Regions from separate parts of the Homo sapiens genome. Here region 1 is linked to region 2. Evidence: promoter capture Hi-C in 16 types of primary human blood cells and fetal thymus (Javierre and others, 2016). All regions are on one chromosome and are shown on one strand. Each heading gives the region's core, a stretch centred on a gene start or on the middle of the fragment in contact. The rest is flanking DNA. Distances are from core to core; before and after follow the strand shown.

Region 1 (4,590 bases), core at 2,031-4,530, 990 kb before region 2:
TGATCTGCCTGCCTTGGCCTCCCAAAGTGCTGGGATTACAAGCGTGAGCCACTGCGCCCAGCCTGGGGAGGTAATATTTTTACAACTCATGATTCTGTAACCAGTTGTGATTTAGAAATCACATTCTCTTGCTTTCTTTATCCCTCATGGACAACTCTGCATAAATAAGAGTATTCTCCATTCTTTAATAAGAAGAGACATTAAGTGACTTTACACAATCATGCACCTTGTAAGTTGTAGAATTGGCATAACCTAACCTTTCCAGGGTGCTAGTTCAAAGCTTCGTCCTCAAACTCATAACTTTGACCAAAGACAGTCAGTGGTAAAGGCTGTGAAAGTCAGGCATGGACCAAGTGCTTTCGAAGTATGGAAATGAGAGAGATCCTATTTGATGATGGGATTTTGCCAGGGCCTGTCTTAAACTTCAGCAGGATCCTAAGGGGGTCCATATGTAAGGAGAGGTGGCCGGTAAGGCAGTTGAGACCTTATATCTTCATTGAGAAATATGACCTTTATTGTCTATTTTTCTTGGAAGAGTTGTTGATAAATTACGTTACCATTGTTTAAAATCACACTGAGAATACTCTTTAGAAAATTTTTAAAACTGTTTCCAGCACTGAGTTATTTTCACTGGGAGCCATTTGTTCTGCTTGTCTACCTGGAGTTGTGTTTGGGCCACCAAAGAAGAGCCAGCTAACACTGCCTATGTGAAGCTCTGGCCCTGGTTCCAGGCGTGACCTCGCTGTTCTGAACAGGCCACAGTGCGTAGGGAGCAGGCAGAATTCTCTAACTTGTCTTTGGCTGGTTTCCCAGCAAAAGTAAATGTACACTGATGTAAAAAACAGTCCGTGTGGGCCTCAACACAAGGCCCTGTAAATTGTACCAATTTACCCCCATCTTGAGGACCTGGTGGATTTAAAAAGTATATCAAACTGCCTCCCAATAACAACACTCCCCTTAGAAGAAAGGGCCTGAGAAAGTGTCTCAGATAAGGGTAAGAAAAAGTCATGGGATGTAAGCATAAGCCTCCTAGCGGCCCTGCTGGGGGATCTAGCGAGCCGAAAACAGGTTCTTGGCGCTGCCATCTAGTGTTCTGTGGTGCTTCTGCAAGTACTAGCCTGGCTCTTCAGCTTTGCCATGCTTAGCAGCAGCGATGCTCACAGCAAATATCTACAGAAAGCCCATTAGGTATTCAGCAAGAATTTAATTATTTTGTACATAATAACTCAATAATTCCACATAACAACATTATGAATGTCCCTTAAATCTCATCTCATAGTTGTATAAACTGGTATTTAGTAGATCTTTCAAGTGGCGGGGCCGGTGTTGAATGCAGATACGCAGGCTGCAGAGCTGGAGCTCTTATTACTCCCTTATATTCCTCATCTCCATAAAGGGTGCAAAATATAATTAACAAATTAATGAACTCTGTGCATCTAACTGGTAGTACTAATTGGTGTTACAGACGTATTTACCTATCATCTGAGAGTCTGTTTAACCAAATTAATCACACCTGTGGGAACTGCACTATTATTTCCTTTGTTAATATCTCCTACCATACCCACATCATCTCACTTAGCACACTGCACTATAAGGCTCTATTGCCTTTGATAATAGAGGCAATAGAGGCTCTAGAGGCAATAGAGGCTCTATTTATCTTCCAGGTGCCCCAGACCTTAGCACTGCAGCTAACACAGGAAATGATCAATTAACTTTATAATGGATTGAAAATTATAGCTTACTGCTGAGCTTATAGTTGGCCTTGATGTTGGCACTAGAGTATAGAAATAAATGTGCTATCTTATCAAAGTGTTACTGTTAAAAAATAATTGTGTTGGCCGGGCGCGGTGGCCCAAGCCTGTAATCCCAGCACTTTGGGAGGCTGAGGCAGGCGGATCACAAGGTCAGGAGATCGAGACCATCCTGGCTAACACGGTGAAACCCTGTCTCTACTAAAAATACAAAAATTTAGCTGGGTGTAGTGGCGGATGCCTGTAGTCCCAGCTACTCGGGAGGCTGAGGCAGGAGAATGGCGTGAACCCGGAAGGTGGAGCTTGCAGTGAGTCGAGATCGTGCCACTGCACTCCAGCCTGGGCGACAGAGCGAGACTCCGTCTCAAAATAAATAAATAAATAAATAAATAAATAAATAAATATAATAATTGTATTGGTATTATATTTTAATTGAAAGTCCAATTCCAATTCATCCTCCCCAACAAACACATGCACACTTTCATTTCAGGCAAAACTGTATTTAGCGTACCCAATTCTCTTGAAGGAGAACTACTGCCTCATAAATGCAATGTAGTAATAGTCCCAAACTGAAAAGAATCCATGACATCACTAACTGGTAAATGAACAAACTGTGGTGTATCCATACAGTGGCATATTACCAAACAATTAAACTGTTAATATATACAACAAGATAAATCTCAAAAGCATGCAAAGTGAAAGAACCCAAACATCAAATTTAAGTTATTGTATGATGCTATTTATGTGAAATCCTAGAAAAGAGAAAGCTATGGTATTTGAAAGTACATCAGTGGAAGCCAGGGCCCAGGAGTGGGAGAAAAGTTTGAACTGCAAAGGGCATAAGGAAATTTGAAGGGTGAATACATAAAGGGAAATGCCCTTTATGTATCATGATCATGGTGGTGGTTACACAGCTGACTGCAACTGTGAAAATTCACAGAACTGTATGCTTACAATTTGTAACTTACTAGATAGAACTCAATAAACTGACAGAAACAAAAAAATACAAGAAAAATTAAAAGCTTGGTTTCTGATCTTCTAAGCATAATGGAACTGTGTTGTCAAACATGTAGCCAGATATGGCTCTTGAGCATTTGAAGTGTGGCTACTCAGAAATGGGTTGCTTTAGGTACAAAATACACATTGGATTTTGAAGATTTAGTTTAAAAAAGTTAAAGGATCTTATTAATTTTTTTATGTTGATCACATGTCCTAATTGTATTTTGCATGTATTGGGTTAAATGAAATGTATTAAAATTAATTTCACCCGCTTATTTTTAATGAGGCTACTTGAGTATGTAACATTACATATGTGGCTTCATTCTATTTCTAGTTCATTATATGTCTTTTTCCTATCTAATATGCGCTGTAGATATTCATCTAATACTCTCTTTAGACAGAGAAAAATTCTTGAGCAGAAAAAAGATTTGTAAGAGTTGAGGTCTCTTGTCAAAGCTGAGGCTTGGGAAAGAAATTGTGAAGGAGGGGAGCATACAGTTAGCATAGGTGACCCTTGCCCACACACCAGCAAGCCCTGACTGCCCACTGCAGCTAAGTGCAGCCCAAGGGAGATATGGGAGGCTGCCAGTTTCCAACTGAGGCCAAGTCTCCAGAGCAGTGTGGACGGGCTGAGAGAAGGCATTCTGACTGTGAGGAGTGCAGACGAGAAGAGCCTGCAGTCCCAGAGCCCAGTGCATCAAATTAGCAGAAGAAAGAGCCCAAATTCACAACCAGGTGGGACCAATTAAATCAGAACCAGACGCCTGAAAAAGGTCTGCTAACTAGCAACACTGCAAGCACTTGGAGTTCTTTATGCAGAATCTCAGTCTTTCCTGGAATGATTCAGAATCTGCACTTTAATATTAAAGTTCTCTAGGTGATTCTTACGCACATTAAGGCTTCAGAAGCACTGCCTTAGATAAAGGACCTTCTTTCCCAGGTGGATACAATTTAGGGTGCAAAACAGCTAGAAGAGGGAGGGGGACAGAGAATGGCCTGCTATTTAGATACGAAGCATCTTTTAGAATGGAAGCTTGCATCGATATCAAAATGGCTTTCAGAATAAAAATCAGTGACTCAGCAGGGGATACTGGGGCTGGTGTAGGCTGGGGGTTCAGAGTTAGGAATGACAGAGCGGGCCCGTCCACCAGCTGGGAGCCCTAGTGAAAGTGGAATAAAATAGGTGGCAGTTGCATTTATAAGTGAGTTGGGCATGAGTTCTTGCACTTTAGGAATAACATTTTTTTTTATCTTTGTGTAGGGTTATATTTAACCTATTATCTGCAATTGATTATCTAACAGGACTCAATAAATATTTGAATTGGAACATAATCAGTTTCAAAACAAAAAATTTAATTTCCACTTCAAAAGAATTTCTACCCCCTGCATTTCAGAAACCTATAATTTAAAAATTGTTTTGATTGTGCATTTTTTTAAAGCTAGGCATGGAGTTTGCCAGTAATAATGACCATAATTTGTGTCAGGCAGCCTCCTACGTGTTTAAATCTGTCTCACTCAATCCTCACCAAAACTCTAAGATATACATATTACTCCGTCCATCTTATAGATGGAAGAAACTAAAGCTCAAAGAAGTCAAGTTAACAGTCTTCGGGCACACAGCCAGTGTCTGTCAGAGTCAGGATTTGAACACATGCAGTCTGGCTGCGGCATCTATGCTCCTAACCACACATTTCTGTCTCTATTGACTGACTGATTAAAATGTCTCTAACCTCAGTGGGGTCATTTGCAGTGAGAAAGAAAAAGAAATAAAGATATAATGAGTTCCGAAAGGGAAAGGACCTTATCTCTTTCACTGCCCTGTCACCTCTGCCAGAAGTGA
Region 2 (6,813 bases), core at 3,150-5,649:
AAAGAAAAGCCATAGAAGTCACCTTCCTACCTAATTAATCAGCTTTCATACCATGACAGAAAATCCAAAATCTCAGGGGCATACAACAAATGTTTTCACTCACACGTCATGTCCTTGGCTGCAGATAGGTTGCTAGGATCCCAGTCCACATGTCTTTGCATCCAGGACTCAAGCTGAAGCAGGAGCCCCTCTTTGTGATATGCCTTTATTGTGACAATGAGAAAACAACAAAAGGTGGTACAAACATGAAATGTCTCTTAGAGCTTCTCTATGGAACTGAAACACTTCCCTCCATTCCTATTTCAACGACCCAAGATGGTCATATAGCCAAGTCTCATAATGTCCTAGAAAGCATTCTCCAGCTATCGGGAAGCACTGTGAGTCATGAGGCAATGGATGAGATTGTATGTCCCCCTCACAAAAAGGGAGAAAATAGATGGGAATAATCACCCACCATGGGAGAAGGCATTTTGTCTAAGTGCTGTCAATCATGCACACCTCCAGGAAGCCAATTCAGAAGCTAGGAAAATAAAAGCAAAATGCCACATTGAATCATTCTGGTGAAGAGTGCTGACAGAAGAGTAAATCTTCCAGAGATATCAGAGGCAGAGATTCTAGTGTCAGTCTCTGCACCCAGGTTTAGGAGTGAGATCCTAGTTGACTATGCTCAATGGAGCCAGTAGTGGTAGTTCCATCAGAGTGGACCTATGGGGTAATTTGATGATGTTCCTGCATACATCATCAATGGACTACCAAATGTTCTTTAATAAGTCCTTTTTATGCTTAAAATAGGTTTCTGGCATTTTCAACTCTTGTTTTTAGTAGGCATTTTGATTGACTGGCTCTTCTCTCAGTTGTCTGCTATTCACGTGGCAATGAGTTAGGCCAAATCCCTACAAACACATTTTACACTCTGATAAGAAGACTATATAATTTAGTATTTTCCACTATAGAGAATATGCCTTCTCTTCCAGTACCTTCTGAACAATTATATAATGCAATTATATAGTTGGCCACAAAACAGTTTCCCAAATGATAAGTTATAATGGCATTTTTTAAACTCTTATTGCATTGTGGTTATAAAATGCTAACAAACCTAAATAAATTATATATATAGAGAGAGAATTTCAATTTAATTAAGTAATTTCAAGAGAAAAGCAAATTTGAAACTGTGCTTAATAATTTTTTTAATAACAAATGATAACGAAAGCACCAAGATGATTTATGGTATATAGCCTGACTTATATTTAGGGAAAACTTTACACTCCTCAATCAATGCAAGAAGCAAGAAAAATAAGACAATAAATATAAGTAAAATAAATCAAGAAAAAATAATAAAGATAAAATCAGAAAAAAATTGAAATAACAAATTAACAGGTTCTTTGAAAGGAACAATCAATTAGACAGATCTTTGGAAAGAAAGATATGTCACTCAGAAAAAAAAACATAAAGTAGTGGTAAATATATAATATCAGGGATTAGAATCAAGAAAAAAACTCAAAGTAATGGCAAATAAAAATAAAAATAATTATTTGTGTAATTGTTCATAACCATGGAGACACTGATACTTTGAGAATAGTAACTTACTGAAACAGATTCGACATTTAAAGAACTTGAATTAGACATCAAATACAAGGACATATAAAGCTACTTCTTCTTGTTTTAATCTAATGCAACTCTGATATCAAAACTAATAACAGCATTTGGCTTGTTCTGCTTCCCACTGTACAAAAGTCTTACTGTTAGTTGTGTGTCACTATTAACAATTGCTATTGTAATATACATCTATATTCTGATATATACCTTTTTATTTAGTTATTTATGTCTCTCTGTCTCATGCACACACACACACACACACACACACACATATGCTGCCATTTTCCTGTCCATGGCATCTCACACTGAAACTGCCCCACCACATCCTTGCTAGATCTTCCTATTACTGTTCCTTTCGTCTGCTTCTGAAATTGTTCTCTCTTTTCTACTTCCTGCTTCTTAATTTTTTGGAACACTTAAACTCTAATATAAAATCTAGGTGACAGCCTCAACCCAGAAGCACTTTCAGAAAGGCTCTCCACCACCTGTAGACAGAATTCTATGTTTTAATTTCTAGACTCACTTCCCCTTCCATCCCTGACCTCCTTCCTCTGCCAAAGTGAAAGTGGTAACGAAGTCCTGCAGATTTTCCCCTCTAGGCAGGAATTTCCTCTCTCTTAGCCAAGGCTAGCACTGAGTAGATAGGGACGGGAGGCCCTAATCTCCTACTTGGACTCCTGGGAGATGTCAGTTTTGCCTTCTGGAAACTGAAAACAATCTGGAATAGAGGAAACAGGAGGTATTAACTCCATCATAAGAGGTCCAGTAGGAGACTTTCAAGGTGGAGCGGGGTATCTACTCATGGTCTAGGCTATACTCCTACCCTCCTCCTTCCACCCCTAGCAGGTTCTCCTGCTGACTGACACACCACTAACACAGACAGCTATTTCTTCCCCTTTAAAGCCTTCAAGACTAAGATTATATTCTCATCAAGCCTAAGATTATACAAAACTAACTGAGGGTGTGGCTCATGCTTCCTCAGAAAGAGTAAGAGAAGAAAATAAATTAGGGGTCTCTAAGCAAGCATGTTGTATGACATGCAATAAGGTCAGTCTCTGGTCTCTTTCCAGAAAACCAGGCCTCAGATTTGTACTAACCCCCTAACTCTTCCTTAGTCCTACTTCTTCAGTGCCCCAAACAGTTCTCAGTTCTTGCTTCTCCTTTGATGCTACTCCTCCCCTAGAGCACAGATGGACACCATCCTACAGTTAGCCACTCATCTTGTTGTCCTGGTCTATCCTGGATTCAGGGCAGAGGGTTGGGGTCTGCAGCTACAGCTGTGGAATTTGTCCACGACAGAGCCTCACCTGGACACACCTGTCTCACAGCAAACAAATAAAGAAACAAACAAAACATTCTGAAGACATCTGTAAAGGAAAGCTTCTATGCCTTGGAAGTAAACTGGTCTGTCTTCAAAAGCCCTCTCTCCAGCCTTCCCCACATGAACGCAAGCCCCCACCCCCAGCTACCCTGATTGCCAGGGTTCTTGACAGTCCGTCATAGTTACAAATTGCACCTTACACATGAAAATGATCTCCCCATTAACTGTTTTAACTTCACAGAGATTCCAGAGCAGTACAACCAACTTGACCTTCAGCTCCTTAAAGGCAGAGACTATATGTCCCATAGTTGTAATCCCAGCACCCAGTAAAATATTGTCAAGAAAATTGATGTTAAATAAATGTTTAAAATGGCTTATTTCAATTAATCCATTCATTATTCTATTAGAGCAGCCATTTCTCCAAAACTGGGTGAGACAGAGGGTACAGCTCAGACCTAAGATACTTTTGTTTTTTCTCATAGACCTATTTGTTGCAGGAAATTTCTGGGCCTCACCCTTCAGAATTTTAACCATGGCCGGGGCTCAGACACTGGCATGAGCATTCTGGAGTATCTGTCCTAACAATTAAGATATTATATAATTTGGAACCGAGCTTCAATTGGAAGATTTCCTGGTTATTTTCTATGCGGATAGGAGGTGCCTTCACTTGCTTATTAAAACCTAAGTGTCAAGAGAAGGACAAGGCCCTGGGAGTACAAAGAAAAACCCATATCACTGTCTTAAGTAACAGTTTTTGTGTGTGCGTGCATGTGTCTATGTGTTTGGGTGAGGAAGGGATACCAGTTGTTTAATTTTTTTTTCCTTTTTTAATGACAATTTTTGACCAGGGTTTCCATTTCTCCATCAACTCCCGGTCTCTGTTGTCTGTTTTTCACTCTAAAAGTGGATTGTGGCAATAGTGATGACAAGCTGGTTGCTGAAGTAAAAACGAAAAAAGAGAGGGTTTTGTTTTGTTTTGTTTTGTTTTGTTTAAGAACCCAGTATTTAAAGCCTGGAACCATGAGAGGTCGCGAATCTTGCCAGGAACAGCAGAGTCCACACCATATGTGCGCCCAACCCTTTGCTAAGATGGGTCACAGAACCAGACTTGGCCAATCTCAGGCTTCTGAGTTTAACAAGTCAAACTGGCAAATGAATAGCCACCTGAGCCTCTCTTAATGCAGTGCCTGAGCGGCATCATTTGGGAGCCTCAATCCTTTGACCTATCCTAGAACTAACTCCTAGAACCCTCTACAGTTTAAGGGAATCTGAGTCGGTGAAGGGACCAGAAAAACCCAGGAAGTAGAGAAAAAACATTGACATGCCTAGAAGCGCCGAAACCCCCGTCTCATCACCAATTGGCTAGGGGTACCCTGGTCCCTGCCTGTGATTGGCTGCCCCCACAAACACACCGCCCCCTGGGCGAAGCCAACCTGGGCCCAGCCGGCCGCTCATTGGCTGCCGTCCCGCGAGCGGGGCCTAGAGCCGGGTGTAGTATTCTGGGAGCTGCGGGCTACTGGGCCTGCGCTGCCGGGCTTTGGGTTCTGGGCCTCTGCCGCTCTCTGGCCCTAAGTGCTGAGCTGCCGGGAACGGCAGCTTCTGACGCTGGGCCATTGGACGCTGCGGAACCAGGCTTCTTCACTTTGAGTTTCCGCCGCGAAGCGCCAGTCCGGGCCGAGGAGGGAGGTGGGTAGATAACTCTGCCTTTTCTGAAGTCAGATCCCGCACGCTCACTTTACCCCCACCCGCCCGCTGTCCTGGGGACCTGCCCAACGCCCTGTGGCCAGGCCAGGAGCTGCTCCCTGACTCCGGAGGTTACCGCCCGCCCCTCGACTCCCTTCCCGCTGGGGTCCTAACTGGAAGTCTTCCAGGCCCCGCCCCCTTCTCAAATGCCCTTCTCAGACTCTCGCTGTACCCTACGGAAGGCACAGTCAAAGCAACCGAACGTTTAATTATTTGAATTTTCTCAAAGTAATTCATGTATAATAAAAAGTCAAACATTAAAGCAGGTCTTATTTTGAAGAGCAGTAACTACCCATCCCCAGATCTTTGCAGAGGCTGCCACTTTTAGTTTGTCCCCATTTAGATGTTTTTAGCACCCTAAATCAAAATAATATGCGTTCCACTGTATTTCTGGATTTATCATTTTGATATTTCTTTGCCTTACTTTCTTACTGCCACAATCTTGTCAATTTTCCATCGCTATTTTAGGTCTTCCATTTGTAGCTTTAAATAATGGGTATCAACTTCCATTTATTGTTTTATTGACTTTAGATGGTGTCTCTTAATGTCTCTACTGACTTAGCTAAGGATATTAACACATCCTCCACTTTCAATCTACTATCGGTTGGAACTCAACATTTACATTTAGTTTTCACGTATTCAACAAGTATTTGAGGCACTGTTCTTGGCACTGGGGAAATAGAAATGGACAAAACAGACAATGACCCTATCCACATGAAAAAGTTCTAGTATGGGAAGTAAGACAATAGACGAATACATGGCAAATGACGTCAAAGGCAGGATCATGTAGAAGTCATTTTCAGCTGGGAGAATAGCAGGCACCCAAGTCAGGTAGATTGAATGGACGAGGGGTTTGCGGGAGTGTGTGGAAGTTTATTCCTTTGCCTAGCTGGGCACAGGTGCTGTTTCAAGGAGAGATCTTGTTAACCGGGAGCCAGGATAGATTATTTAGTAAGTTAGTGATTTACCAAAATGAGGTTTTAGGATACTGGATCCCACAGTTTGGTAGTGATAGTGGGAGGAAGAAAAGCAGGAGGCAGGGAGTCTAGTGAGAAGGCATGCCCTGCCAATGGCATATCAGAGTCCTGCAAGATTTACTGCTCTGCTTCCTGCTTCCTGCTACTGGACTGCGCTAAACCACAGTGATTTTTCTCTCCTCTTGAATTTGTATTATACCTTAAAGCTAAAGAGGTTAAGAAATTTGCCCAAGATAGATGGCAGAGCCCCAAGCCAAACATCTGTAAAATGAGAACAATAATGGCCTCTGCCTAGGGTTGTGAAATAAACCAACTTAATTCATGTAAAGTGCTCAGAACAGTGCCTGGCACATCATAGAACTGCTCAAAGAGTGCTTGCTTTTATTATTAATGTATGCTCTCAATTTACCTCACAAATGCTAAAAGGATTTTGGGTTTAGGAACTATTTCCTATGTCTAGCTGGTTAATTCATTCAACAAATATTTACTCAGCAATATCTGCATTGCAGGTGCTGTTTAGGTGCTGAGGATACAACAGGAACTAGGATCAACATGTCCCTTCCTTGTATAGATTCTAGCTGGTAACACAAACTAGCAAAGTGAATGAATAAATATTGCCAACTGAGCCAAGAGCCTGCCATTGACCAAGTTCCATGCCCATATGTGGCCCTGGCAAAAATCTCAGATTTCTTGCTGGTGTAGTGATTTCATCAATATGGGTGTGATGATCATCAAATGATCTTTGTTTTAATCTCCAAGGGATGTTATTTCATCTCTGCTTCTAGCATATCACTAAAAGCTCAGAAGACTACCTTGACATCTTGGTGAATAATAAGTACATTAGTGCTGGAGCAGTGGGCAGGGGTTTAAAAGGCACAGGAAAAGAACTGCTGTTTCCTTTACAGTTTTTGCATTTTAGTGTGCAACACAAGAAAACAAATTGAGCTTGTAGGCAATGGGCTTCTGGCATACTACCTTTTGACACTTTGAATTATATTAATGTAAATATAAACATACCAGAGAGTGAGGCTGGAGGTATTTATGGCCTTACTTCAGATACTGAAATACCACATTTTATGTGAACTTACCCAAGTTTAAGAGAAATAATGCTGATTTGTAGAGCATGATTGGAGTGGTAATGGTCAAGTAGAGCAAACCCAGAGGAAAATCAGAGTT

The links. Contacts are between HindIII fragments. The CHiCAGO score rates a contact against its expected background, and 5 or more counts as called.
Region 1: a contact is called between a fragment that was not itself captured here and the fragment with the promoter of TRIM68 in region 2, in 1 of 17 cell types (activated CD4 T cells). The highest score is 5.2, in activated CD4 T cells.

The regions. Positions count from the first base shown.
Region 1 is chr11:5,596,949-5,601,538 of GRCh38, reverse strand. The region is part of intron 1 of TRIM6 (tripartite motif containing 6); the gene reads right to left. The region is part of intron 1 of TRIM6-TRIM34 (TRIM6-TRIM34 readthrough); the gene reads right to left. It also overlaps a transcript of TRIM5 not described here. Among named protein-coding and RNA genes, the nearest start is that of TRIM6-TRIM34, 2.6 kb to the right of the region's middle. RefSeq lists enhancers at 886-1,180, 4,214-4,590. The HindIII fragment of the contact is 1,010 bases long and covers 2,776-3,785 here.
Region 2 is chr11:4,605,817-4,612,629 of GRCh38, reverse strand. TRIM68 (tripartite motif containing 68) reads left to right here and starts at 4,399. Exons shown (of 7, transcript NM_018073.8): 1 at 4,399-4,603. RefSeq lists silencers at 4,235-4,444, 4,755-4,834. The HindIII fragment of the contact is 6,370 bases long and covers 2,979-6,813 here.